Linked DNA regions of Homo sapiens: regions 1, 3, 4 and 5 are each linked to region 2. Evidence: promoter capture Hi-C in 16 types of primary human blood cells and fetal thymus (Javierre and others, 2016). All regions are on one chromosome and are shown on one strand. The core of a region is centred on a gene start or on the middle of the fragment in contact, and the rest is flanking DNA. Distances in the headings are between cores, read along the strand shown. Region 1 has its middle 37 kb from the start of PTGFRN. Region 2 holds the start of CD101 (CD101 molecule). Region 3 has its middle 25 kb from the start of CD2. Region 4 overlaps CD2 (CD2 molecule). Region 5 has its middle 67 kb from the start of PTGFRN.

Region 1 (5,642 bases), core at 1,315-3,814, 130 kb before region 2:
TCTCTCTCTTTTTTTTTTTTTTTTTTTTTTTTTTTTTGACAGAGTCTCTCTCTGTTCACCAATCTGGAGTGTAGTGGCTCAACCTCAGCTCAATGCAACCTCTGCCTCCTGGGTTCAAGCAATTCTCTTATCAAGCCTCCTGTGTAGCTGGGACTACTGGCATGCACCACCATGCCTGGTTAATTTTTGTATTTTTAATAGAGACGGAGTTTCGCTATGTTGGCCAGGCTGATCTCAAACTCCTGAGCTCAAGTGATCTGCCTGCCTTGGCTTCCCAAAGTGCTGGGATTACAGGTGTGAGCCACTGCGCCCAGACATTTATCAATCATACTTTCAAAATAAACCTAGAATGTACCCTTTCCCTCACCATTTACCCCTGCCACCCCCCGATCGCAGTCACCATCGTCTCTCTCCTGCATGATCACAAACGCTGCTAATGGGCCTGTTTCTGCCCTGGCTTTCTCTTGTTTCAACAGAACAACCAGAGTGATCTTGTTAAATCATGAGCCAAATGACATCACTCCTCAGCTCAAAGTCTTCCAGAGGCTCTCATCGGGAATGAAGGCCAAAGTCCTTCCTCTGTCCTGCGGGACCCTACTGATCTGCACCCCTTGCCTCTTCAACCTCATTGCCAACTACCTCCCCCTTGTTCATTCTGCCCTATCTACGCTGGCCTCTGTGCTGTTCCTTGACTATATACCAGACAGATGCCCACACCAGGAACTTTGCAGTTACTATTTGCTCCCCCAAGACACTCTTCCCCCAGATAACCATATGCCTGATTCCCCACTTCTCTTAGTTCTGTACTCAAAAGTCATCTTCTGAGTGAGTCCTTTCCTGGCTACCTAACCAAAACATCTCCACCATCTCCATGCTTCATATTCCCTTTCTTTGTTTTTTTTCTTCTTGGCTTTTATTACCCTTTGTATATTTATCTTTTTTATTGACTATCTCTCATTAGCATATGGGTATATGAGGGCACAGATTTTTGTTTTGTTTACTCTCCAGGTTCTAGAACAGTGCCTGGTTCATAGTAAATGCTCATTTCAATGATCTATTGCTGCATCATAAGCCATCCTAAAATACAGGGACTTGAAACAACAGTTTATTAGAATCTCACAATCTCATAGGCTGACTGGGCTCAACTGGGTGGTTCTTCCTTGGGAATCTCTCATGTGGTTGGAGTCAAATGGCAGCTGGGACGGGAGTCATCTGATAGACTTGGCTGACACAGGATGCTGGCTACTGGCCAGGAGTTCAGCTCCGCCCACTGTCTGGAGTGCCTACATGTGACCCCTCCAAGTTCACTGGGGGCACCAACTTTTTTCTTTTTCTTTTTTTTTTTCTGAGACAGAGTCTCTTTCCATCACCAGGCTGGAGTGCAGTGGCATGATCTCGGTTCACTGCAACTTCCACCTCCCAGGTTCAAGCGAGTCTCCTGCCTCAGCCTCCCGAGTAGCTGGGATTACAGGCACTCGCCACGACATCCGGCTAATTTTTTGTATTTTTAGTAGAGATGGGGTTTCACTACGTTGGCCAGTCTGGTCTCAAACCCCTGACCTCATGATCCACCCACCTCAGCCTCCCAAAGTGCTGGGATTACAGGCGTGAGCCATGGCGCCTGGCGAGGCACCATCTTTAAAGATTAACTACCAGGGTATTCAGTGAATACTTGTGGGATGAAGGAAGGCAGAAAGGGAGGGGAGATGGTGGGAGGGAAGTAACTGGAAAATTTACAAAAAAGAAAATGAGGAAGGAAAGGAGACAGCAGAAAAGGAAGGAGAAAAGGAGATGTGGATTTCTGAATATGATGACAGTATTATAGCCCGGGAATAAAATCCATCCTTTCCTGCCTGACCCTTCTTTCCCATCTCCCTCAAGTTGCATAATAACCTGCTTGGAAGCAGAAATTCAACTAACGCCACATATCAGAACTGGAGCGCTCTTGGCAGAATCTTCTACAATTTATACCCCAAGTTCAAATTTAAGCCAAGGCATATTTCCAAGGAAAGAACAACACAGTACTTTATCTTGATGTTGCTCCTCACCCTTGGTGATTTCAAAGCAGGTTTATAAACAAGCGCTGTCATTGTGCAAGAGAGGAAATGGAAGGGAACTAGTAATATTTAGGTAACCAATAACAAAATCTTTGAGTCAATATTATAGTGAAATGATTAAGTAATTACGTGGAATCAGAGGCAGACTACAACTGCATCAAATTAATAAAGTAGAATTTGGAAGAAATAAGATATAAAAATTTCCACATAAAAACTGAAGTCAATTGAGGCTGTAAGGAGCTAGAAATTAAAAATAGATTTATACCAAACTAGGTAGAACAAAATTGAAACAGTTGTTGAGATATTAAAAATGGATTTGCTTTTAAAACCGTTTGGAATAGTTTAGTCATTTTCCAGAGCCATAGATATTCTGTGCCAGTTGAGCACTTTTTCCCAAACCAACCTGGCAGACGGTTGTCTAATCAGGAAGCTTTGCAGGCAAGTTCCTTGGCTAAAACCCATAGGAATAAATGAATTTGGGTTTCTAAAGTTCCAGTGTCTCAGTACAAAGAGAGATAGGTAACCCTTTTTCCTAGAGATACTGATGATGATATAAATTGTGGTATGACAGAATGCAAATTCCCTAAGCTTGGAATTCTCCTCTAACTGACATGTCACAGAATAAGATGGCATCATGTTTACTTCAATTTGTGGTCTCTCTAAACCACTTTGGTCTTTGGCCCCCAGATCTGCCCATTTCAGGGAAACTGGAGTAACTCAAAAAAGTAACTTGTCATGAATTAGTTAGGATTAGGTTTGGCAGCAGGATATTGAACTCTCCCTACTCCCCAACACCTTCACCTCCCTTAAAAAACAATAACAAAAAAAAAAACCAGTGGCTTAAACAACATGAAAGTTTATTTCTCTTTCATATAAGCCTGAATAGGTAGTCCACAGATGGTAAAGGGCTCCACAGTGCAGGGAATCAGATTTTTTTTATTTTTATTTTTCTGCCTTAACTGCATAATCTCCACTTCCTAAATCATCCTATCGTCCAAAATGAATGCTTGAGCTCCATCCCGCATATCCCATTCCATCCAGGAGAAAGAAGAAAAAGGTAGAGAGCAGGAAAAGCTCCCTGCCTTTAAGAACACTTTCCAGAAGTTGCTCACACTACTTCTACTTACATCTAACTAACCAAACGTTAATCCCATGACCGGGAGAGAATCAAGAAGACTGGGAAGCAGTCCTTCTAGCAGCAGGTGCCTAGCTAAACATTTAAGGTCCTAATACTTTAAAATAGAAGAAAACAAATGTTGTGAGACAATTAAACAGTCTCTCTGCTACAGTTTATCCCTTTGGCCTCCCCAAATATATGGGCATCCCCATGTAGGACACAATCCCTCCTCAAGGGGAAGAAACCCAGGGACTGCCTCCAGATCAAAGTCAAGATCTCTGAGTGAAGTGTAGTCTCCGTCTTCAAATCCAGATATGATGTTCACAATCTTGCAAGCTGTTTTAGTCTGTTCAGGTTGCAATAACAAAATACCTTAGACTGTGTACTTTATAAATAATATAAATTTATTTCTTACAATTCTGGAGGTTAGGAAGTCGAAGATTAAGGCACCAGCAAATTTAGTGTCTGGTGAGGGCTCTCTGCCTCGAAGATGGCACCTATTGCTGAATTGTCACATGGTGGGAGGGCAAAAAAGGGCCAGACTCCCTTCAGGCCCTCTTATAAGGGTACTAATTTCATTCGTGATGTCGTCACCTGCTGAAGACTACCCCCCGACCCCTTACTATGATGACATTGGGGATTAAGTTTCAACATGAATTTTGGAGGAGCCATATTCAAACCATAGCACAAACCATAAACTAAAAGATTAGTTATCTTTCCCATAACCCACTACATATGCAGTGATGTAGTAAGAACAAGAAAACCACAATTAAAACTACCAGTCAGAAAATGTGAAAGTCCCAGAAGTCGATCTATAGTAATTATCAAATCCTGCTGAGCAAGAACAGAGGGGACTCTCTTCTTAAACATCAGGAGTCAGCCGTCCGTCCTGTGGGAGGTGCTTCTGTGTCCATTATTCCCCATGGTTATGTCTGAGGCAGGAAGTGATGAGTTTGCCCTTTGGGGTGGGAGGACTGCTGCACAGCTTTCATAGCCTGTTTCTTGTTAATACATAGTTGGAGGCACAAAGGTTGCTTTAGGCATTGAATAGTCACAGGCTTTGGCAGATTAGGCTTGGATGCTTGGCAGTACAATTCCCTCAAAAACTAAGTAGGCATCTTTTCCATTTGCCTTCCATCAGTTCCATGTGCGAGTAACAATAGCCAAATATCTTGTCTAAAAATGGTTTTTAAACTGAAAGACTCAGATCTTTCAGACCTTTGTCCTCTGCCCACCCTTTGCCCCAGTTTAATGGCAGCTAGTTGAGTTTTGGAAGGAAAGCAACAGCTTTAATTGGATAGTAACAGCTAAGTTGTCACCCATTGTCTAGCAGACAGTTTTTAATAGCATTTTATTTTTATTATTAATTTTTTTTTTTGAGATGGGGTCTGTCTCTGTCGCCCAGGCTGGAGTGCAATGGCACGATCTCAGCTCACTGCAACCTCCACCTCCCAGGATCAAGCCATTCTCCTGCCTCAGCCTCCCAAGTAGCTAGGACTACAGGCATGCGCCACCATGCCTGGCTAATTGTTGTATTTTTAGTAGAGATGGGGTTTCACTATGTTGGCCAGGCTGGTCTTGAACTCCTGACCTCTTATTTTCTGAGACAGTTTCTCACTGTGTCAGCCAGGCTGGAATGCAGTGGTACAGTCATAGTTTACTATAACCTTGAACTCTTGGGCTCAAGCAATCCTCCCACTTCAGCTTCCTGGGTAGCTGGGACTACAGACACACACCACTACATCTGGCTAATTAAAAAAAAATTTTGTAACAGTCTTGCTATGTTGCCCAGCCTAGGTTAGTCAATTTAGATGGCAGGCCAAAGGCAGAGAGCATAGCCTGTACCACTTCCCTAATATCTTAACAATTGGACAGATTTAGCTGTAGTTTTCTACACTTCTGCTGCTCATGGAATTGAGGATTTTGCAACAATAACCACCAGCCCTCAGCCCCACTCTTGGTACTGAAATGAGAAAAGTTCCCTTGCCCCCCTTGCAGGGCGCGCGATGGGGATGTGGCTCGCTTCTTCAGTGAGCGGCTGTTAAACCTCTAGGGGAGCATACAGAGAGGCAAGCTGTGGGGCTCCGACCCCACTGCAGTGTCTAGGGGTGGATGTTTACAGCTCCTGAAGCCCCAGTGGGCGCGTGTTACAGGGTGCTCTTTTAGTTTGGCCGTCTATAGGCAGCTTGTGTTAACCAGCTCAATTAGACCCTCTACCTTGTTGCAAGGACAGAAGGCTTTCTGTATCCCGAGGTTCTTGCCTTGGTGTACTGGCGGGCTTGGAGAATGGGTGCAAGGTTTTTTTATTGAGTGGAAGTAGCTTTCAGCAGATGGGTGAGCCAGAAGGGAAATGGTTTTCCCCTGGAGTCGAGTTGCTTGACGACGGACCAGGCTCTCCTCTAACTGCCCCAAGCCCAACTCCATGACGTTCTGCCGGTTGGTGGCCTGCTGGCGTGCCGGTGCCTGTC
Region 2 (5,428 bases), core at 1,692-4,191:
TTTACTGACCTCCCATTCATTCTCTCCAGATTAGACATGCCCTCTTCCTTCTCTGATATCCCTATGTGACAGTCAAGTTCTTACCTGCTCACCTCCACCATGCCACATGGCACAAGCAGCAGCTCCTTCAGATCAAAGGCTGCAGCTTAATTATGTCCTTAATGGATGTCCAGCACATGGTAGGGTGCTTACTGCACAGGGAGTATTCCGTAACTATTTGATTATTTTATCTATCCCACCTCTGTCTTTATTTATTTATTTATTTTGAGATGGAGTCTCGCCCTGTCGCCCAGGCTGGAGTGCAGTGGCGTGATCTTGGCTCACTGCAAGCTCCGCCTCCTGGCTTCATGCCATTCTCTTGCCTCAGCCTCCCCAGTAGCTGGGACTACAGGCGCCCACCACCACACCCAGCTATTTTTTTGTATTTTTAGTAGAGACGGGGCTTCACCATGTTAGCCAGGATGGTCTCGATCTCCTGACCTCGTGATCCGCCCGCTTCTGCCACCTAAAGTGCTGGGATTACAGGCATGAGCCACTGCGCCCGGCCTCTGTCTTTATTTTAAATGCCCTACTTCAGGCCCTTATTATTGCTCATAGAGACAACTACAAAAACCTTGTAACTGACCTTCTTGCTTCTAGCCTTGTCTCCCTTCTTCACCTTTCAACCTGTTAGCAATGCACACATACAGAATTCAACTTAAAAGGAAAAACGGAAAATCCAACCAGGCTATACTACCACTAAAAATCTTCATAGCTTCCCTCTTCTTTGAGGTATTAATAAAAGCCAAGCTCTTAGGCTTGGCACACGAAGCCCACTAAGATCTGCCCATCCTACCTGTATAGATCCTTCTTTCACAACAACCTCAAACTTCATTCCAACAAGATAGTACAGCCTGTGTGTTACTATTCATGCCACACGGTTTTTCCCCAACTGTACCTTGGCCCCCTGCCTCTCTAGATGACTCATTGACTCACCTGGCCCAGCCCAATCCATCTTGACCTTCCCTCCTGCCTACCAATTTTCCCCACCCCCTATAGGTGCCCCACTGATTGTTGACACATTGCATTGTGATTATCTGATTTAAGTGGAAGCTTCCTGAGAACTCTAGCACTAGCGTAGTATTAGTCTAGGTTCAGGGCCAACTGTTGCATTTAGATACTCCTCTGCCATCCTTGATACCTGGGTTCACATCGGTGTAACTGCCCATTAGCGTAACTGCCCAACAGGTTTCTCCTTGCCTGCTGCCCAGATAGAACAGACTTATCAAGACAGGAGAATTGCAATAGAGAAAGAGTTTAATTCACACAGAACCAGCTAAATGGGAAACCAGAGTTTTATTACTCAAATCAGTCTCCCCGGAAATTCAGAGACTGGAGTTAGTAAGGATAATTTGGCAGGCCAGGGAGTGGGGAGTGCTGATTGGTCAGGTAGGAGATGAAATCACAGGGGATCAAAGGGGGTTCTTGCAGTCTTCCGTTCCTAAGTGGGATCAAAGAACTGGTGGAACCAGATCACCAGCCTGGATGGTGTCAGCTGGTGCATCAGGATGCAGGGTCTGAAAAATACCTTGAGCACCAATTTAGGTTTTACAATAGTGATGTTATCCCTAGGAACAGTTGGGGAGGTTGGAATTGTGTGGCCTCTGGCTGCATGACTCCTAAACCATAATTTCTAATGTTGTGGCTAATTTGTTAGTCTTACTAGGGAAGTCTGCTCCCCAGGCAAGAAGGGGGTTTGTTTCCAGAAAGGGCTGTTATCCTCTTTGTTTCAAAATTAAACTAAGCTAAATTCCTCCCAAAGTTAGTTTGGCCTACAACCAGGAATTAACAAGGGCAGCTTGGAAGTTAGAAGCAAGATGGAGATGGTGAGGTCAGATCCCTTTCACTGTCATAACTTTCTCACTGTTACAATTTTTGCAAAGGCAGTTTCACAGGGCAGATGAAGATTTACTTAAATGTCTCATGATGGTGATGATGGTAGCTAATATTCATTGAGCAGTTACTATGTACCAGATATTGTTCTAAGTGCTTTAAATAAATTAGCTTGAAACTATCATTCTCAGCAAACTATCTCAAGAACAAAAAACCAAACACTGCATGTTCTCACTCATAGGTGGGAATTGAACAGTGAGAACACTTGGACACAGGAAGGGGAACATCACACACCGGGGCCTGTCATAGGGTCGGGGGAAGGGGGAGGGAAAGCATTAGGAGATATACCTAATGTAAATGACGAGTTAATGGGTGCAGCACACCAACATGGCACATGTATACATATGTAACAAATTTGCACGTTGTGCACATGTACCCTAGAACTTAAAGTATAATAATAATAAAAAAAAGTAAAATACAAAAAAAAAGAAATAAAAAAATAATTAAAAAATTAGCTCATTTGGCATTCACAGTAATCTTACAGGGTACCTACTATTAGTATCCTCATTTTAGCAATGAGGGTTAGGAAAAGTTAATTAAGTTTTCTAAGATTGCACAGTTACTAAAACTAGAATCTGCATGCAAACCCAGGCAGCCTGACTCTAGAGCCTGTAACCTTCAGCACCACCTCATGTCGCCCCAAGTTCATGTTTTTCAGGGGCCTTCTCCCATTTCTCAGTCATTTCCTCTCTCAAGAGAGGAGGAGAAGGAAGGGCCAAGAAGACAACATTGCTGGTGCCTTTTTTATTTATTCAGTTTACCTAAATTCTCTCATCATTACCAAATGACACATACTGTGAGCCAGGTTGAGACCCATCTTTTCTTAGTTTTATCGATATCTGTTTACTTAACCACAAAGATAACTTTTTTACTCCCAAATTTGAGTGATTAGTAAAGAGCTACATAATGTAACCAGTTTTGCTTTTCACAAGACATCTCTATTTCTCAGTGGGCTGAAAACCACACTTTTGCTTCCTCTTTACTTTGCAGTGAGAGCACAGCATTTGTCACTCAACCTCTGAATGTTAGTGACACTATTGGGACGAAAAAGGACTGTGCTGGCCCAAATGGCAGGCATCTCATATGTGGCATCTTTCTTTCTCCTTCTGAGTAAGTTTCATAATCCTTTATGTTTCTCTTGTCACAGGAGTTCATCAACTCAGGGTGCTGAGTGATGGAACAGGACAATTTGGTCTCTACAGGAACAACTATGCCATATATTTCTGATGTTAGCAATAATTTTTGACTTACTAATGACAGTTCTTGGCTTACCTAGACATCCTTGAGTTCCAGGGAGTCACAATGCTTGGTTGAGTCCCATGCACAAGATTCCATTGGTTTTAACATTTGTGTGTGTTGCCAGATCTGTCAGTTTTGCTTGGCCCTGGCTTTACTCATCTTCCTGGGCCGATCATCCCAAGAGACAGTAAAAAAGCTTTGTGTCCCAAACTGAGAGGAGACCTTAAGGTTTGCCTGATATTAAGGCTTGATGGGATAACTATGCCTTGCAGATATGACTGGATGGAAAGAAAGGTTATGAAAGTACTTAGTAGTTTTAGACTATGCTAAAAGAAGGTTCTAGATTTCACCTGCGAGTGGAAGTGGAAATTGACTACTGAGAGACTGAGAAATGAACAGGAAGATTCACTTGGCTCTACTGAGGGCCATGCAGAGGGGCTTGCCTGATCTAGGGGCATTTATCTATGTTTGAATAGGATGGAAGAAGAGAAAATTTGGAGGTAGAAGGGAGAGTCAGATGAGTTGAGCAGGTAATGGAATAGTTTCAAACCAGATAGCAGGTACTTTTTATGCTACAGTTTTCATTAACATCTGGTAAAGAGAATAGACTCCATCTCAGAATAATGTTTAAAATGCATAAAATAAAATGCATAGAATTACAGAGGAAATCAGTCACATTGAAATACAGGTATCAAAATATTTTAAATAAATTATAATGCAGTAATTTATTTGCTTCTTATTTATGCATTACATAACAAAATCTACAGGTAGGTCTTTTAACCACCAAACTTCAAAGTAATGATGAGTATAAATAACATTTCAATATATCTTAAGTAGTTGTAATGTGATATGAAGATATCTGTGGTTGTCTACATACATAACTGAAGAAAATACTAAATTTCCATTAGAGGCAAAAATGAAAATAAAGATGTAAGATTATTTTTCACCCTAGTTTATGGACCCTTTAATCCTACATGTGGACCCAGTTAAGAACTCTTGCTTTATAGCTGGGCATGGTGGCACATACCTGTGGCCCTAGCTACTTGGGAGGCTGAGGTGGGAGAATCGCTTGAACCTGGGAGGTGGAGGTTGCAGTGAGCCAAGATTGAGCCACTGCACTCCAGCCTGGGTGACAGAGTGAGATTCCATCTAAAAAAACAAACAAACAAACAAAACTCTTGCTTTAGAGAGACTGGATGGAGCCAGTGCAGGGACCCGAATGGCTGGGATGATTGGGGAACTAAACCAAGCTGCATTTGGTGTGACCAGGACTATGGCTGAAGAATTAAAAGAAAAGAATACAGCATTCAGCACAAAGAGGTTGCTTAATAAACATTGATTGAGTTGAATTGTGCTCATGTCTCTAGGTACATATGATAGTGTGAGGTTAAGAGTCAGACCTAGGGCCTGCAGGGGAAGTTACTGGGACCACTTGCTGGGTGACGGATGCCTGCCAGACTGGCTTGGCGGGTGTTGATGGATAGGTGCACTGGTGGGATCCTTTGGGGGCTGGTGTGTTTTTGTTGTTTGGTTAAGTTGTCTGAGTGTGATTCTCAAGTGTATGTGCTTTGTGTATTTGAATTCTATGTTTGCTATGTATATAGGAGGAAACTGGGTTTACATTGTGCAATAATTCATAGAATTGCAAATTCTGTCTCTTTTTTTGGTAAGCAGGCTAGAAGCCCTGGGGGAAGGAAAGTAGTAATCAAGGCTCAAAAAGGGGAAGCTGGAAGCTTTTCCTTAACCCATTTAAACAATTACCTAAACTGGGTTATACATTTACTTCTTCTAAATTCTGACTCATCTGAAGCACTAATTTTGTGTAGAAGCACAGTTTTTATGTGAAGAATACATAAATCAGGAAGTTACTGGAAAAAGCTTTAGAAGTCTGCTGTTTGTCCTTACAAATATAGAGGGGAATTGAAATAAATTATTTAAATAACGATCTATTGATCAATTACATTGGTTAGCAAATTTACACTTTGTCCCAATTTTTTTTTAGTAAATATAAGGACTGAACAATCCTGATAGAAAATGGTGCCATATGAGATTAATGTCATGGGTAAATGAGTTCTCGGATTTAGCAGTTAGCTTTGTCTGCTTGATCTATTTCCCCCACCCAAACTAGCTGCCCTACAAATAATGGCCATTAATATGGCAGGGTTTGGGGGAAGGGCTATTGTCTGTCTTACTGAGTTTGCATTCATGAAAAATAAAAAAGATTCCACTTAGTATGGATGGAAGCTATCTCAGCCTC
Region 3 (5,284 bases), core at 1,271-3,770, 220 kb before region 2:
TATTTATAATGACACCACTTGGAAGCAACCAAGGTGTCCTTCAGTAAGTGAACGGATAAATAAACTGTGGTACATCCAAACAACGAAATATTAGTCAGTGTGAAAAAAGTGAGCTATCGGCCAGGCATGGTGGCTCACACCTGTAAGCCTAGCACTTTGGCAGGCCGAGGCAGGTGGATCACTTGAGGTCAGGAGTTCCAGACCAGCCTGGCCAACATGGTGAAACCGTCTCTCTTCTAAAAATGCAAAAATTAGCCAGGCATGGTGGCATGCACCTTAGTCCCAGCTACTCGGGAGGCTGAGACAGGAGAATCACTTGAACCCAGGAGGTAGAGATTGCAGTGAGCCGAGATTGCACTACTGCACTCCAGCCTGGATGACAGAGTGAGACTCCATCTCAAAAAAAAAAAAAAAAAAAGTTAGCTATCAAGCCATGAAAAGACATGGAAGACTTAGATGCATATTACTAAGTGAAAGGAGCCAATCTAAAATGTCTACACATACCATATGATTCCAACTATATGACACTCTGGAAAAGGCAAAACTGTGGCAACGGTAAAAAGATTAGTGGTCGCTAGGTGTCAGATGGCAGGAAGGGATACATAGCAGGAGACAGATACTTTTCAGAGATTTGAGAATACTTTGATTGATACTATAATGGTGGATACTTGCCTTTACACATTTGTTCAAACTCAGAATGTACGTCAAGAGTGAACCTTATTGTAAACTATGGGCTTTAGGTGATAATGATTTGTCAATGTAGACTTATCGATTGTTAAAAAATGCACCAGTCTTGGTTGGGGATGTTGATAATGGGGAAGGCTATGTGTGTTGGCGGAGATAGGGGGGATATGGGAAATTTCTATAACTTCCTCTGAATTATGCTGTAAATCTAAAACTGTTCTGAAAAATAAAGTCTATTTTTTTAAAGTGCTTACCAAGGACCTAGCACCATGAAAGAAAATGTATTCACACCAAGATATATGATTGTAAAACTTCAGAACACTGGGACAAAGATTAGAAGGGGAGAGAGGAAAAGGGGTAAGGGGAAGGAAGAAGAAAAAAGGCAGTGGAGAGAGAGACAGAGAGAGACACCATACCAAGTATCAAGAATTAGAAAGAATTAGAATAGCACTGGATTTCTCAACAACTATACTGGAAGCTAGAAGACAACAAAGCGATGCTTTCAAATTCTGGGGAATTTTCAGCTTAGTATTCTAGGCAAACTATCAACTATGCATGTGGCTTATAGAGAAAACATGTGTTATACAAGCTTTTCTGAGGCATGAGTCATAGTGCTGGTGGCCATGAGTTCAATGTTAATGCATCAACAATATATCTCAAATAAGATGTCTTTAAACAGAAACACACATAAAATTAGGTTTTGTATTGATCAGTTGACTCACTGTTTACTCACTCAGTGTTAAGGCTCACAGGAATCTAACCCTGTATTTCCCCTGGGAGCAATGTTTCAGTTTGCTAAGTCAGTGTTTGCAATAACTTTACAGAGCATAACTACCATGAATAGTGAGAATCGGCTGTATAGACTTTTCCTTTTCTTTCTTTTTGCACTGTCTTCAGATTACCTCTTCTCATATCCCCTTTTCCACCACTGGACCAACTACACTGTTGCTGATGATTGCTGTGGTGATGAGGCAGGACGGGAGTGAACAAGTAGAGAGTTTACCAGCTCTCCCCTGTCCTTTCCTTCTCTGCCCCAGTTTGCAGACACCCATCCCCCAACATGTGCTTGCTCACATTCTGGTTCAAAAGAGCCTTCAGTCTTCTCAGAGGGTTCTCAATTATATGTTAGTTTATCATGTCCATGATTATTTCTCTTTTGTAGCTTTTCTCTGCTATAGTTCTGTAGTTTACAGTTGTGGAGGAAGGTACCAGCAGTACAAGCTGGTTCATTGGCTTGTCAAAAACTTGATCAGGGAGGATGTTAGCAATATGATGCAAGAACAACCAAGAAGAAATATCAGGTATGAAAAATATAACTGTTGAAACAAAATGCATAATAGCTGAAGTATGAATCAGGATAGATACAGCTAAGGACTGAATTAGGAACCTGCAAGATCATTGCAAAGACCTATGCAAGAATGCAGGGGAAAGTAAAACAGCTTTTCTTTAAAAAAAGAAAAGAAACAATAGGGATATGAAGGATAAAAATATCAGTATTCAGATAATAGAGATTCCATAGGGAGAAAAACATAAAGTTGAAAATTGAGCCTATAATATAGAGCCAAAGAGAGAGAGAGAGAAAACCCCAAAATTAGACATTTTACTGAGAATTAGAATCATCAAAGACTGCAAGAAATTTTTAGAATGTTTTCAGAGAGAAAAACATACAAAAGAACAAGCATTAGATTGACCTGAGACCTCTCAGTAACAATGCTGGATGCAAGAAGACAAAGAAGTAATATTTTTAAAGTGTTGTGCAGTCATCCCTAGGTTTATGTGGGGGATTGGTTCCAGAACCCCCATATATATATCCACGTCTGCACATGCTCAAGTCCTGCAGTTGGCCCTGTAGAACCCACCCATGTATATGAAAAGTCGGCTGCCTGTATGTGTGGGTTTCATATCCCACAAATACCATATTTTTTATCTAATTTGGTTGAAAAAAATCTGCATATAAGTGGACCCCTGCAGTTCACACTCAAGTTTTCAAAGGGTCTACTGTACATTGAATTTTACATACAGACAAATTGACATGAAACATGAAGATACAATTTAAAAATTCTGGACTTAACAACCATAGTTTCTGGTATACAAAATCTCAGAACCTATGTCATACAAAAACTTACTTTGAAAAACCCTTGGAAGAAATATTCAAATTAGAGGAAAATAAATACAACAGATGTTGTATAGAAATGTGAAGTTAGGGTGATTAAATAATTTGGCAAATTAATTGTTATCTTAAAAAATCAAAGTGTGATGAAAACACAAATTAAAAACCATATTCATAAAAACCCAGAACTAAATTCTGTCTAGACCATATCAGTTGTGTGTGTGTTATTGTTGTTGTTGTTATATGTATTGGTGGGGGAGAGAGAAAGAAGAGTCCAGAGACATAAGAGAACATGCTAAACTACTTGCCTTATTGGAGGAAAGAAATAGGTATTTATAAGTTTAGTAAGTCAGGATGAATAAATAAACAAATATGTCTTAAGAGCAAAGACCATAAAAACAAAAATAAAATACGTTCTTTTAAACCAGCAAAAGAAAATCGTATCTACTCAGTGAAGAGTAAAATTAGAAAAGAAAAAAAAGTATCAGTAATGAAAAACATGAAATAAAATGGAAGAAATAAGTAATAATATAAAGTGATTATGAGAAATGTAAATAGGTTAAACAACCAATCAAAAGAGAACATCTCAAATTGAGCATTTTGAAAGATCCAACAATATACTGTTTACAGAAGACAACTTTACAACAAAAGAATACAAAAAGTTTGAAAATAAAGAAAATATGATCCAAAAGAAAGCTGAAGCAACAATCTTAATATCTAATAGAAAAATTCAAAGGACAAAAAAGGAAACCATACTTGTTGAAAGAATAGTAGAGCAAACACATATGCACCTGACAATATTGCAACAAAAAAATAAGGTAATCGACAGAACTTCATAGCAAATAAATAAATTAATCATTTTAATTGGAAGTTTTAACACAAAAAAATTATTGAGGAGGAAATGGAGTCTTCAGAAATGAATAGGTTTAGCAGAGAAAAAGCAGTGATATAGAAATCTGAGTATTTTAATTAATAAGCTTTATTTATATCCAACAGAAAACACACAATCTTTTTGGGCATATATGAAACAATTTTAAAAATTAATCATATATTAATCCACAAAGAAAGTTACAAGAAAGTCTAATGAATGAATGTTATCAAGAATATATTTTTCAATCATAATGAATTAAAATTATAAAATATTTTTCAAAAGCATAGTGAAAAAACTGTTAGATTACTAGAGAACATTTTTCCAAAACTATGTTATTTCTAGAAATAGAATTTTTTTCTAGAAATGCATTATTTCTAGAAAACCCAGAAAACAATTATTAATAGTTGGTCTAACAGTAAAATGAAAGTTCTGATAATAAAATAATAATAACAAATGAAGCTAATAAATATATAAAACTGGTAATGAAAACACTTCAAAATTTGAAGACCACATCTACAGTAGGTTTTAGAGACAGATGTATAGCTTTAATTACATTTATCAAGATATAAGACAGATTGAAAACAAAGAGTAATACTCAAGAATACAGGGAAGGGACAAGCAAAGAAACAGAAAGAAAGAAATAATAACAAAGATAGAACAGATATCAATGACCTAGAGAAAAACAACAACAAAACAGAGAAGATTAATAAAACCTTAAACTGGTGTTTCAGAAAGATTAATAAGATAGATGTGACAAGGCTACTAAAGTGAAAAAAAAAGAGGTAGAAAGTACAAATTTAAAAACTGAATGCAAATGGGGAAATAACCACAGACACAGCAGAGGTTTTAAAATTAATAATTAATATTGTAATAATTATACAATACAAATTTAATTAATAATTAAAATGTAATAAATTAATACATTTTTAAAAGTACTGGCTGGGAGCGATGGCTCACGCCTATAATCCCCAGCACTTTGGGAGGTTGAGGCGGGCAGATCACGAGGTCAGGAGATCGAGACTATCCTGGCTAACACGGTGAAACCCTGTCTCTACTAAAAAAAACAAAGTACAAAAAATTAGCCTGGCATGGTGGTGGGCCGCTGTAGTCCCAGCTACTCGGGAGGCTGAGGCAAGAGAATGGCATGAACCCAGGAGGTGAAGCTTGCAGTGAGCCGAGATCGTGCCACTGCAATCCAGCCTGGGGGATAGAGGGAGACTCCGTCTCAAAAAAATAAATAAATAAATAAAATAAAAGTACAAGCCCTTCTGACATATAAATGTAGATGCAAAAATTCTAGATGAAATATTAACAAACAAATTCAACACTATATTTTTAAAAACATATCATGATGAAGTGGAGTTTATCCCAGCAATGTAAGGAAATGGCAACATAAAAATAACCTACCAATAAAATTACAACATTAATAGTCTAAAGGAGAAAAATCATGATTATATTAACGTATGCATGGATGGAAGGGGTAAAACCAAATATTTACTCAAAAGCCTTAACAGGCTAGGAATAGAAGCTCTTGCCATCATTGCTAACAGGCCCCCTTCTAATGATGAAAGTTTACCTGGACACATGGTTGTGAAGTTAAGACTACGTTTTCCATCCAC
Region 4 (5,315 bases), core at 1,287-3,786, 240 kb before region 2:
GGCAAGGATGATGACCTTTTCTTTTTTTTCTAAACAGCTTCATTGAGATAATTCACCTATCATTCAATTTGTCCATACACTAAAACGGCCTTTAGTATATTCAGAGTTTTGCAACCATCACCACAATCATGTTACTGTGTTGCTGTTATAAGTAGAAAAAAAATATTTCCATTCTGAAGAGACGGGCAAACTTCGTGACCCAACCTCTAGACTATGTACTAACTCTGTTGCTGAATGTTGATAATTTCCATTTTCTTCCTTCTCAGTAACGCAGAATCTTGGGATGAGAAGAAAACTTTTAATTTAATTTCTGCATGCCTATATATATCGGGACATAAATGAAGTTTGACTATGGTGTTCCATGGGGAAAATATTGGTGTCTGGAAGTCAGAGTGGGAGGGAATCATTGAAAAATAAGCTAGTCCATCTATATTATGAATGGAGAGAAACTGAGAGGGAAAAGTGGCAAGTCTGGGGGGAACAAAGTAAAGAATGAGAAAAAAAAAAAACAGAAGACGAGGAAAAGGAAAAGTTCACACAGCTAGGAAGTGATGGGGCTAAGATGTAGACCTGAGCCATCTAATGCTAGGCCTAGGCATTTTCCTTTTGTGGTGCAATCTCTGTGCGGGAGAGGCAAGAGGTTTGTGATTATCGAATGCATGAATTACCACTAATAATGTCAGTGCCTAACGATCTGCCCAGGGCTTTGCCACATGTTGCTCCTTTTGTGACAGGTAGGGTATGTTTTTCTGATCCTTTTCTGATGCTCTGAGGAGGGCCAGCGTAGACCCTGTGAGCAACTGAGCAGCTCTGGGCTGGGAAAAGGCAGAATCAAGTCTCTGGTTCCCAGGCAGGTGCTCTTTTTCCCTAGAGCTTTGAGCTCCTTGGACACCCACACACTCACATATACCCACCTGGCCCACTGCTCCAGGAACTTGGTGGGGGCAGAGGTATCCAAGGTCCCCAGTCACATGTCAATGTGGTGATTCCTCCAGGATGGGGTTCCTGGCTGCTGTTAAAGCATTGCCTTTCTCAAACTCTGGAGGCACTTTCTTACCCATACTCCTAAACCCTGACTGCCATGTTTTAGGTGGTGCCCCAAGACCACCTACTGGACCTCTCAGAGCCTTGAACATTTTGTCTGTAAATGGGAAGAAAAACATCAGCCTGTCTGTTAGGGTTAAGTGATGTCATATATGTGAAAGCATTTTAAGGTATAAGACAGCATATAAACATTACATATGATACACTATTTAGTGGCATAATGTATCTGTGAATGTCATCAGAAATAATTTTTTTCTGAATGCTCTTTGTAAATAAAATAAAATAAAATAATTTCCAAAAGTTGCTAGAGGTCTTTGACATTGTTCCCTTGTCCCTAACTGACTCCATCCCCCACTGTATAAATAGATATGTTTATTAAAATCAGAAAATTGCCTAAATTGAACTGAATCTTTACTTTCTTTTTAGAGAGGGTCTCAAAACCAAAGATCTCCTGGACTTGTATCAACACAACCCTGACCTGTGAGGTAATGAATGGAACTGACCCCGAATTAAACCTGTATCAAGATGGGAAACATCTAAAACTTTCTCAGAGGGTCATCACACACAAGTGGACCACCAGCCTGAGTGCAAAATTCAAGTGCACAGCAGGGAACAAAGTCAGCAAGGAATCCAGTGTCGAGCCTGTCAGCTGTCCAGGTGCGTGGCGGGCATCACTTCACAAACACAGCCTGCCAGGCCCTCAGTAGGCAGAGGCATGCTGCTCCAGGTCACAGGTGCTCATGCTGGGAGGCAGCCCTGGCTCAGGATGAGGCATGAAAGCATATCTCTTCCTCCTGGAAACCTTCAAGGGAAGCATCAGGGGAGGTGGTGTTCTATGGTTTTCCATCCTGGGAGTCCTCCCACTGAGCACAATTTGACCACAAGAAATTTTAAAGATCCTCTTCTAGGAGAAAGAATTGCAAAACTGAAGAAGGAGGAGCTGTAGAGAGTATCTCATGCAAAGCCCCATTTTCCAGAGAGGGAAACTGACTTGCCCAAGGTCCCTTGGCTAGTTAGTGACATGATTCCAACTGCTCCCCTAAAGATGGTTAGTGGTCAGCACCTCCCATCAGGAGTAAAGGTAGAAAGGCTGCAGAAACCCTGGGGGGCAGGGTCATGGGGGAATGGAGCCCTTGAGGCCAAAGAGGACTGTGGACAGCAAGGCAACACTCCTGGCACACAACAGGACGGCAAGGCTTGGGGACTAGCTCCAGAAAATCTCAAAACTCCAAGACCATAATGGATCCCCAGTGTCCCAGCCTGATGTGACCTCCAGAAGTATTTCTGAGAGGCAGCCTTCTATAGTGCCCAAGCTCTCGCCTGGGAGTAGAGGTCTGGACTTCTAGTTTGGGTCTGTCCAAATTTAGCCAGAGAATCTTGACAGAGTTTCTTCCCCTCTCTAGGCTTCAGCTTCCTGGCCCACAAAGAAAATAAGCACCATGTTCACAGACTATTAGATGAGTAGGCTCTTGGATCCACTTCCAAGTTCATTCATGTGGGCCGTTGGGCTGCCTCACAATATGGCAGCTAGCTTCCCTCAGAGCCCTCTAAGAAAGAGCAGGAATAAGTGCCCAGGACAAAAGTCGTGGTCTTTTTGTAACTTAATCTCAGGAGTAATATCCCAATCACTTCTGCTGTGTTCTGTTCATTAGAAGCAAGTTAATAAGTCTAGCCCACATTCAATCAGAGGGGATTGCACATAGGTGAGAATACCAGGAAGCAGGGGTCATTGAAGGCATCTGAGAGTCTGCCAATCACCAACTTGACCAGCATCACTTCACCCCCGGTTTTCCCACCAGTCATCCTCCCACATTCCCCCATCACTAAGGCACAGTAAGTGAAGTTGCCTCTCCTTGACTTCGCAACTTTTTTTGAGACAGGGTTTTGCTCTGTTGCCAAGGCTGGAGTGTGGTAGTATGATCATAGCTCTCAGCAGCCTCCACCTCCCAGGCTCAAGCAATCCTCCCACCTCAGCCTCCCCAGTAGCTGAGATTACAGGAGCATGCCACCACACCCAGCTAATTTTTAAAATTTTGTAGAGATAAGGTCTCACTCTGTTGCCCAGGCTGGTCTCGAACTCCTGTGCTCAAACTATCCTCCCACCTCAGCCTCCCAAAGTGCTGGGATTATAGGCATGAGTCACTGCAGTGGCCTCGGGAGATCTTTGATTAGAGTTGCCAGATATAGCAAATAAAAATACAGCATAAGTACGTTTCAGATATTGCATGGAACATACTTATGCAAGAAATTTTTCATTGTTTATCTGAAATTCAAATTTAACTGGGTGTTTTGCATTATATCTGGCAACCCTACTTTTCATGTTTATTTTAACTGGAGCCCACAAGTATAAATATGTGTGTGTATTAGGGATGGAAGGAGGGAGAGAGGGAGGACCTTGGGAGCAGCCAAGGTTTGAAGGCTGGAACACTTATGTCCCTTACTCTATGGTGCAGAGCAGAAGCTCATTGCGAGAAGGACCACTAGGGAGATGGGAAGAATACCTGGGGAGAGATTAGGGTGGAGGAGCTGCTCTTGAAGACCCGAAAAGGGATTTGGAAGTTTTATTCTGAAAGGCCAAGGCAGAGAGGAGCAATGGTCAGAGTCTGACCATTTGGCTCAGATTAGGTGAGTGTTTACATACTTAAAATCAAAATACTAGGAGGAAGGAACAGATTCAGATGCACAAAAATAATTTGTCACATAAACTCATGGGCATGTGATCTCCAAGAGATACTGTTGGAAGATAGTATGCCTGGATTTAGGAACTGGGAGGGCATATTTTTGACTGACAGTGCCACCGCTGCTTCTGAAACATGATGGAACATTCCCCACCAAAAGTACTACCAGGTGCCCCAGGGCACCACCCTGGACAAACTGGAGAGCAGGCTGTGTAAGGCATTGCCTACATTCCTGCATGTGCCCAAGATAAAATTGTGGCCACCCTACCCGATGACTTGGAGGGAAGATGGAGCTGGTGGCTGCATGACTTAGCCATGTGCTCCCCAAAGCATTTCAGGCCTGCCCTGCCCCACCCCGGGTCAAATCTGAAAAGTTCTCAAGCTCAGCAGGAAGTGGCCTCTGGTATCTCCTGCCCCTCGTCCAAGCCAGCAGGGCCTAAAGGGCCCTGAATCCTTTACTGACCCAATTTCAATGGTTTAAGATTATGTCTGCTTCTCTGGTGGAGGCCTCTTCATCAGTAGAGCTTAGAGAGTTGTGTAACTGGCAGGCAAAGAATGGGTCAGAGAGAGACTCGAGGAAAGAAAGCCAAGATGAATAAACCACCACAGTTTGATGATCTGTTAAACTTGGTTTCTGAGCCTCTGACCCTCTCCTTGGGGCCCATCCTGGGCTTCATGTATAACAGTGTCTCCCTGGTATGTTTTTGCCTGGAGAAGCATTTCTTTTGTGATGCTGGGCCAAGTTCCAGTTTGTTCTTCAGATGACCCCGTCCCCTGACCCGAGCCCCACTGCTGCTTTTCTAACTGCTATTGACTCACAAAGGGCAGACAGCCCTAGAACCCCTCCTGTTTCCCCTGTTGCTGGGAAACAGCTCCCAGAAACACCAGTGCGAGAACACTAGTAAGAGCAAGACCTCACATTTGTGTTGTTTTACAGTTTACAAAGCACTTTCATATCCATTATCTGATTGACTTCCAACAGCCACCCTATGATGTAGGTTTCATTATCTCCACTTTACAAAGAAGGAAACAGGCTCAGAGAGGTGAAGTAACTCTCCAAAGTTCACACAGCTCCTGCCTAAAAAAGCCTAGACCAAACCCATTTCCCTTAACACCAAAGTCACTGTTTTCCTCATTGCATTACAGTGACTGAAGGTCCAGCAACTGAAGACTAAGCCCACTGCTGTTACTAACGCACTGTGCACCCGGGTTTCTCTCGTGGCTCCAGGGAAACTCTGTGAGAGGGTGCTGGCCGTGAGGTCAGAGTGCTGGGCTGGACAAGTGAAATATTTACCCTGAGTGTTTGGAAACTGCCTGGTAGAGACAGTGAGAAGGAATCATGGTGCAGTGGGGGTAGCCAGAGACGAGAGCAGGATCAACAGTGCAGAAACACCGAGACAAGGGGCTGCTTAAGGGAAATGCTCAGGAACAGATATTGTGTGGCTTCGGGCAACTCATTCTCCCTCTCAGGGCCTCATGTTTGAAGCTAGAGGTTGCATTTAGAGTATCTCTAAGATCCTCGGATCTAAAATTTCGTGATGCTTTCCATGACGGGGGCAGTGGGCAGGCCGGCCTTGGTGCATGAACAATCAG
Region 5 (5,452 bases), core at 1,123-3,622, 160 kb before region 2:
TTTGAGACCAGTCTGACCAAGATGGTGAAACCCCATCTCTACCAAATATACAAAAAATTAGCTAGGTGTGGTGGTGGGCACTGTCATCCCAGCTACTCAGGAGGCTGAGGGAGGAGAATTGTGTGAACTCAGGAGGTGGAGAGGTGGAGGTTGCAGTGAGCCGAGATTACACCATTGCACTCCAGCCCAGGCAACGGTGCAAGACTCCATCTCAAAAAAAAAAAAAAAAAAAGAACTGGAAATAAATTAATCACCATATTAATGGTGGTAATTCCCAGTTGTAAGAATATGAATGATACTTCTTTTCTTTTTTGTACTTTCTATATTTTTTAATTTTCTAAAAATAAAATGAAAAGGCATAAAAATAATAAAAGAAATGCAAACAAACTGGTTGAAACTCCTAGGGTTTCATAAATATTGTCTCATTTAATCCTCACAACATCTCTATGAGACACAAATTATTTTTCTTATTTTCAAATGGGGAAACTGAGGCTAGGGCTGTTAAACTCTTTAAGGTCATGCAGCTATAAGTGAATTAATTGGATCTTGAGCCGAGGTCTTTTGACTCTAGATTTCATGCTCCTTCTTCCACATCCCGTTGCCTCTGCAAGAACCACATATTCTTCTAACAGCTAAAATAACGGGATATGTTAGAAGGAAAGCCACTGGTCCTCTTCTGCTATTAGCCAGAATGAGTGAAGAACTTCAAACTCCAATAAGTGCCCTGGAAAGTGTAGTAGGTCATACCAGACGACGAGACAGGTGACTCAGGATACTTGACGCCTATCAAAAAATGACCAGGGCTTGCCCGCGGACTCGAGGGACCCTCAGATCAGAGCCTAGAAGAACTAGGTCCTTATTTATAAAATCTCTTCTGTATAGTACATATAATGCATAAGTATACATGCAATCTTGATCTGTCACCTACGTAGGGAAGGCCTTTGAGGTCTTTATTCCAGCTACTATTTCTGAGATATAAATTAGTCCAAAACAACACCTTAAAACTACTATATTATTTTGTGGGGTTTTTTTGTTGTTGTTTTGTTTGTTTGTTTGTTTGTTTGTTTTTGAGACAGAGTCTCGCTCTGTCGCCCAGGCTGGAGTGCAGTGGCCCGATCTTGGCTCACTGCAACCTCTGCCTCCCAGGTTCAAGCAATTCCCTGCTTCAGCCTCCCGAGTAGCTAGGATTACAGGTGCCCACCACCACGCCTGGCTAATTTTTGTATTTTTAGTAGAGACAGGGTTTCACCATCTTGGCCAGGCTGGTCTTGAACTCCTGACTTCGTGATCCACCTGCCTCGGCCTCCCAAAGGGCTGGGATTACAGGCGTGAGCCACCGTGTCCAGCCTTTTTTTAGTTTTTTTTTGAGACAGAGTCTGGCTCTGCTGCCCAGGCTGTAGTGCAGTAGCAGGATCTCGGCTCACTGTCACCTCCACCTCCTAGGTTCAAGCAATTCTCCTGCCTCAGCCTCCTGGGTAGCTGAGATTACAGGCACCTGCCCCCATGCCTGGCTAATTTTTTTAGCAGAGATGGGGTTTCACCATGTTGGCCAGGCTGGTATGAAACTCCTGACTTCAGGTGATCCACCCGCCTCTGCCTCCCAAAGTGTTGAGATTACAGGCATGAGCTACTACACCTTACCAAAACTACCATATTATTTCACTCATGATTTTGTGGGTCAAAAATTTTGAAAAGGCTGTGCCTAGGACTTCTCACTTGGCATCTCTCTTGTGGTTACAGTCAGATGTTACCTGGAGCTGAAGTCATCTGAAGATTCAACAGGACTGGATGTCCAGCATGTCTCATTCACATGATTGGCAGGTGATGGTGGCTGATTAAGCTGTCAACTGGGGAACTCACATGTGGCCTTTCCCATATAGCTAACTCAGGGTAGTTGGACTTCATACCTAGCATCTAGCTTCCCTCAGGACAAGCATCTCATAAGAACCAGGCAGTAGCTGCAAGACTTTTTCTGACATGGCTGAAGAAATCACGTAGCACACTTCTACTTCATTGTATTGGTTACAAATGAATAATTAGACAGACTAGATTCAAGGGGAAGGGAAGTAGGCTCTACCTCTTGATGGAGTAGTACAAGGTCACATTGTGAAAGAGCACACGAGGTGAAAAATGTTGTTTCAGCCACCTTTAGAACATAAAATTTGCCTCAGTCATTTAATCCAGTGTTTCCCAACCTTTGTCACCTCATAGCACACACTGAAAGCATTAATATGTATATGGCTTATGACATGTCAGTTGGAAAGCTCTGACAAGCTAACTATCTGTGATTAAGAAAGCTTCCTTTCCTTACTTTATAGCTAGTGTGCATTCAAGGGCAAGATTTCTCACATGTTTCAGGGTAATTCTTGAACTAACAGAAAAAAAACCTTCCCAGTTCTGATCCCTTTATGTTATAAGTATCTATGCTATAAGGATTTTTGTGTCCAGAAGCTTTGAGATAGTTTTTCATCTTTCCTCCTCTAAACACTAAAGGAAAGATAGCATACATTCTTTATACACTGGATCAGTTAAAAATATATGCTACCAATCAAAAAGAATAATAACTGTAGCAGATTGAACACTTCAAACATGTTTAAATTCATGAGTTCATAATGCTTTTAAAACAATTACGACAGAAATTATTAGAGTACTCTTTGGAAGTTTCCAGGACCCTAACTTATTTAGAAAACTGGAGAATAAAGGGACAGACCAAGCATTTGTCCTGCCTTTCCTGTATGAACTATGCTTCACAGTATGCCAGGTATCAATGTGCTATCTCTCAGCTCAAAGCCCACTCTTTGCTCTGCTTTGCAATTCTGGTGCTGTACCCTGTAAACATTTCTCCTATCAACAGCTGACATAATGTTAAACATTTTTGCCAGTGGAGGGTGCTGGAGGGAAATTGCAGGAGGAAGGAGTTTTTCTGGCTCAGTGTGCTTTCCTCCTTGCTCCTGCAGTGCACAACGACCAACAGTGTGGCGGATGCCCCAGTTAGTTTTAGCAGTACACTTGCGGATAACTTTTTTTTTTTGAGACGGAGTCTCACTCTGTTGCCCAGGCTGGAGTGCAGTGGAATGATCTCTGCTCACTGCAACCTCCACCTCCAGGGTTGAAGCAACTCTCCCTGTCTCGGCCTCCCAAGCAGCTAGAACTACAGATACCTGCCACCATGCCCAGCTAATTTTCGTATTTTTTAGTAGAGACCAGATTTCACTATATTGGCCAGGCTGATCTTGAACTCCTGACCTTAGGTGATCTGCACATCTTGGCCTCCCAGAGTGCTGGGATTACAGGAATGAGCCACCATGCCTGGCCTTGTGGAGAACTTTCTATCAAGCTTTGTCAGCCCCACAGTGGGCATGTGATGGTTAACACTTAGTGTGAACTTGATCGGATTAAAGGATGCAAAGTATTGTTTCTGGGTGTGTCTGTGAGGGTGTTGCCAAAGGAGATTAACATTTGAGTCAGTGGGCTGGGGAAGGCAGACCCACCCTTAATCTGGCGGGCACAATCTAATCAGCTGCCAGCGCAGCTAGAATAAAGCAGGCAGGAGAAGATAGACAAGCAGGCTTGCCGAGTCTTCTGGCCTTCTTCTTTCTCTTGTGCTGAATGCTTTCTGCCTTTGAACATCAGACTCCAAGTTCTTCAGCTTTTGGACTCTTGGACTTACACCAGTGATTTGCCAGGGGCTCTCAGGCCTTTGGCCACAGACTGAAGACTACACCGTCAGCTTCCTTATTTTTGAGGTTTTGGGACTTGGACTGATCCACCAATGGCTTCCTTGCTCCTCAACTTGCAGATGGGACTTTACTTTGTGATCACATGACTCAATTCTCCTTAATAAACTCCCTTTCATATATACATCTATCCTATTAGTCCCTCTGGAGAACCCTGACTAACACAGGGCATTTCCCTGCTTGCCAGCTCTAGCCTAAGGTACTTCAGTGAACATCTCCACTATTCAATCTCCACTCTCCATGGAACAGTCACACTCTCTCCATCATTGGGAATGAGGGACTGTCTTCCAGTTTGTTATTTCCTTGAGTGCTCTGACTGCACTCTAGAAGTAGTGGCTGTTCTCTGTTTCTGCTATTCCTGTATTCTTTAGAGTTCCTTAATCTCTATTTAATAATTTATGTTAAAATTTACCTATTTTAAGGCCAGGCACAGTGGCTCACACCTGTAATCCCAACACTTTGGGAGGCCGAGGCGGGTGGATCAATGAGGTCAGGAATTCGAGACCAGCCTGACCAACATGGTGAAACTCTGTCTCTACTAAAAATACAAAAATTAGCTGGGTGTGGTTGCAGCCACCTGTAATCTCAGCTACTAGGAAGGCTGAGGCAGGAGAATCTCTTGATCCCAGGAAGAAGAGGTTGCAGTGAGCCAAGATCACGCCATTGCATTCCACCCTGGGCGACAGAGTGAGACTCCATCTCAAAAAAATAAATAAAATAAAATTTACCTATTCTAAGCATCGTGTGGTTTCTGTCTCCTATCTGGACTCTGATTCATACAGTAAGCAAATCGTTGATGAGGAAAACTTCTTCTGTATACAAGAATACCAGCTAATAAATGTGCAGTGAATGAAAGAATTAGAATATTTTATAATTAAAAAAATAGATGTAGGCACTGACCATCAATCGATGCTAAAGTCAGTAGATAAGAGGCTGATGGGGAACGTAATAATGGATGGATCAGACTGATGGATGGACTCCCTGAACCAGAGGCAAGTTTACCACAAGCTAATATGGTGTAAGCTTCAGCTCTCCTCACTTGCATGGACCTAGAACCTAATTTTATATTTGTAATTTTGATTTATTTCTCTTAAAGAAAGCCCCTCAAATTGCACAAACTTCAGTCTCCACAAAACCTTGATTTACCCACTTGGTAAACCCACTGATCAATCTTAAGATCCCAAAACAAAGCAAGAGACCACCAGACATGATGAGCCTCCTCCTGTGATGCAATAGGCAATAGCAACAGCCACAAAATCCTCCTGCCAAAAGTGTAATGCCAAACTGATCAAGCCTCTAGATATAATGACTGCTTTATACAAACACTTGGGATAGAAGAACATGCTAAAGACACTATGAGAATGCAATAGCCAAATCCAAAATATGGGAGATTTTTTTTTAGGACAAATTACTCAGTATTTTCAACCAAAACAATAGCAAGTAAAAAAAATAATAACTGTGGCAGTGTGGGGGGCTTTCGTAGAGATTTTTAAAGACTTGAGAAATATCAGCAAAAGCAATATGTGTCCCTCATTTGGATTTTGATTCAGATAAAATAACCATTTATGAGATAATGTGAATTTTCATGCTGACTGGATATTGCATGGTATTAGGAAATTATTGTTAGTTTCTTTTAGGTGTCATAATGTATTATGGATTTTTTTAAGGAATTCTTATCTCTTAGAGGTATATATTTAAGCATTTTTGAATAAGTT

What was found. Contacts are between HindIII fragments. The CHiCAGO score rates a contact against its expected background, and 5 or more counts as called.
Region 1: a contact is called between a fragment that was not itself captured here and the fragment with the promoter of CD101 in region 2, in 4 of 17 cell types (M1 macrophages, M0 macrophages, naive CD4 T cells and 1 more). The highest score is 6.1, in M1 macrophages.
Region 3: a fragment that was not itself captured here is called in contact with the fragment with the promoter of CD101 in region 2 in 3 of 17 cell types (naive CD4 T cells, total CD8 T cells and naive CD8 T cells); the score reaches 7.5 in naive CD4 T cells.
Region 4: a fragment that was not itself captured here is called in contact with the fragment with the promoter of CD101 in region 2 in 1 of 17 cell types (naive CD4 T cells); the score reaches 5.0 in naive CD4 T cells.
Region 5: a contact is called between a fragment that was not itself captured here and the fragment with the promoter of CD101 in region 2, in 9 of 17 cell types (M0 macrophages, total CD8 T cells, M1 macrophages and 6 more). The highest score is 7.3, in M0 macrophages.

Annotation. Positions count from the first base shown.
Region 1 is chr1:116,869,973-116,875,614 of GRCh38, forward strand. No RefSeq gene overlaps it. Among named protein-coding and RNA genes, the nearest start is that of PTGFRN, 37 kb to the right of the region's middle. RefSeq lists an enhancer at 1,055-1,349. The HindIII fragment of the contact is 158 bases long and covers 2,486-2,643 here.
Region 2 is chr1:116,998,819-117,004,246 of GRCh38, forward strand. It overlaps CD101 (CD101 molecule), which reads left to right and starts at 2,942. Exons shown (of 10, transcript NM_001256106.3): 1 at 2,942-3,042. The coding sequence starts at 3,000. The HindIII fragment of the contact is 2,275 bases long and covers 1,091-3,365 here.
Region 3 is chr1:116,776,670-116,781,953 of GRCh38, forward strand. No RefSeq gene overlaps it. Among named protein-coding and RNA genes, the nearest start is that of CD2, 25 kb to the left of the region's middle. The HindIII fragment of the contact is 2,498 bases long and covers 1,272-3,769 here.
Region 4 is chr1:116,758,932-116,764,246 of GRCh38, forward strand. CD2 (CD2 molecule) reads left to right here. Exons shown (of 5, transcript NM_001767.5): 3 at 1,471-1,701. Among named protein-coding and RNA genes, the nearest start is that of CD2, 7.2 kb to the left of the region's middle. The HindIII fragment of the contact is 8,969 bases long and covers 1-5,315 here.
Region 5 is chr1:116,839,947-116,845,398 of GRCh38, forward strand. No RefSeq gene overlaps it. Among named protein-coding and RNA genes, the nearest start is that of PTGFRN, 67 kb to the right of the region's middle. The HindIII fragment of the contact is 154 bases long and covers 2,296-2,449 here.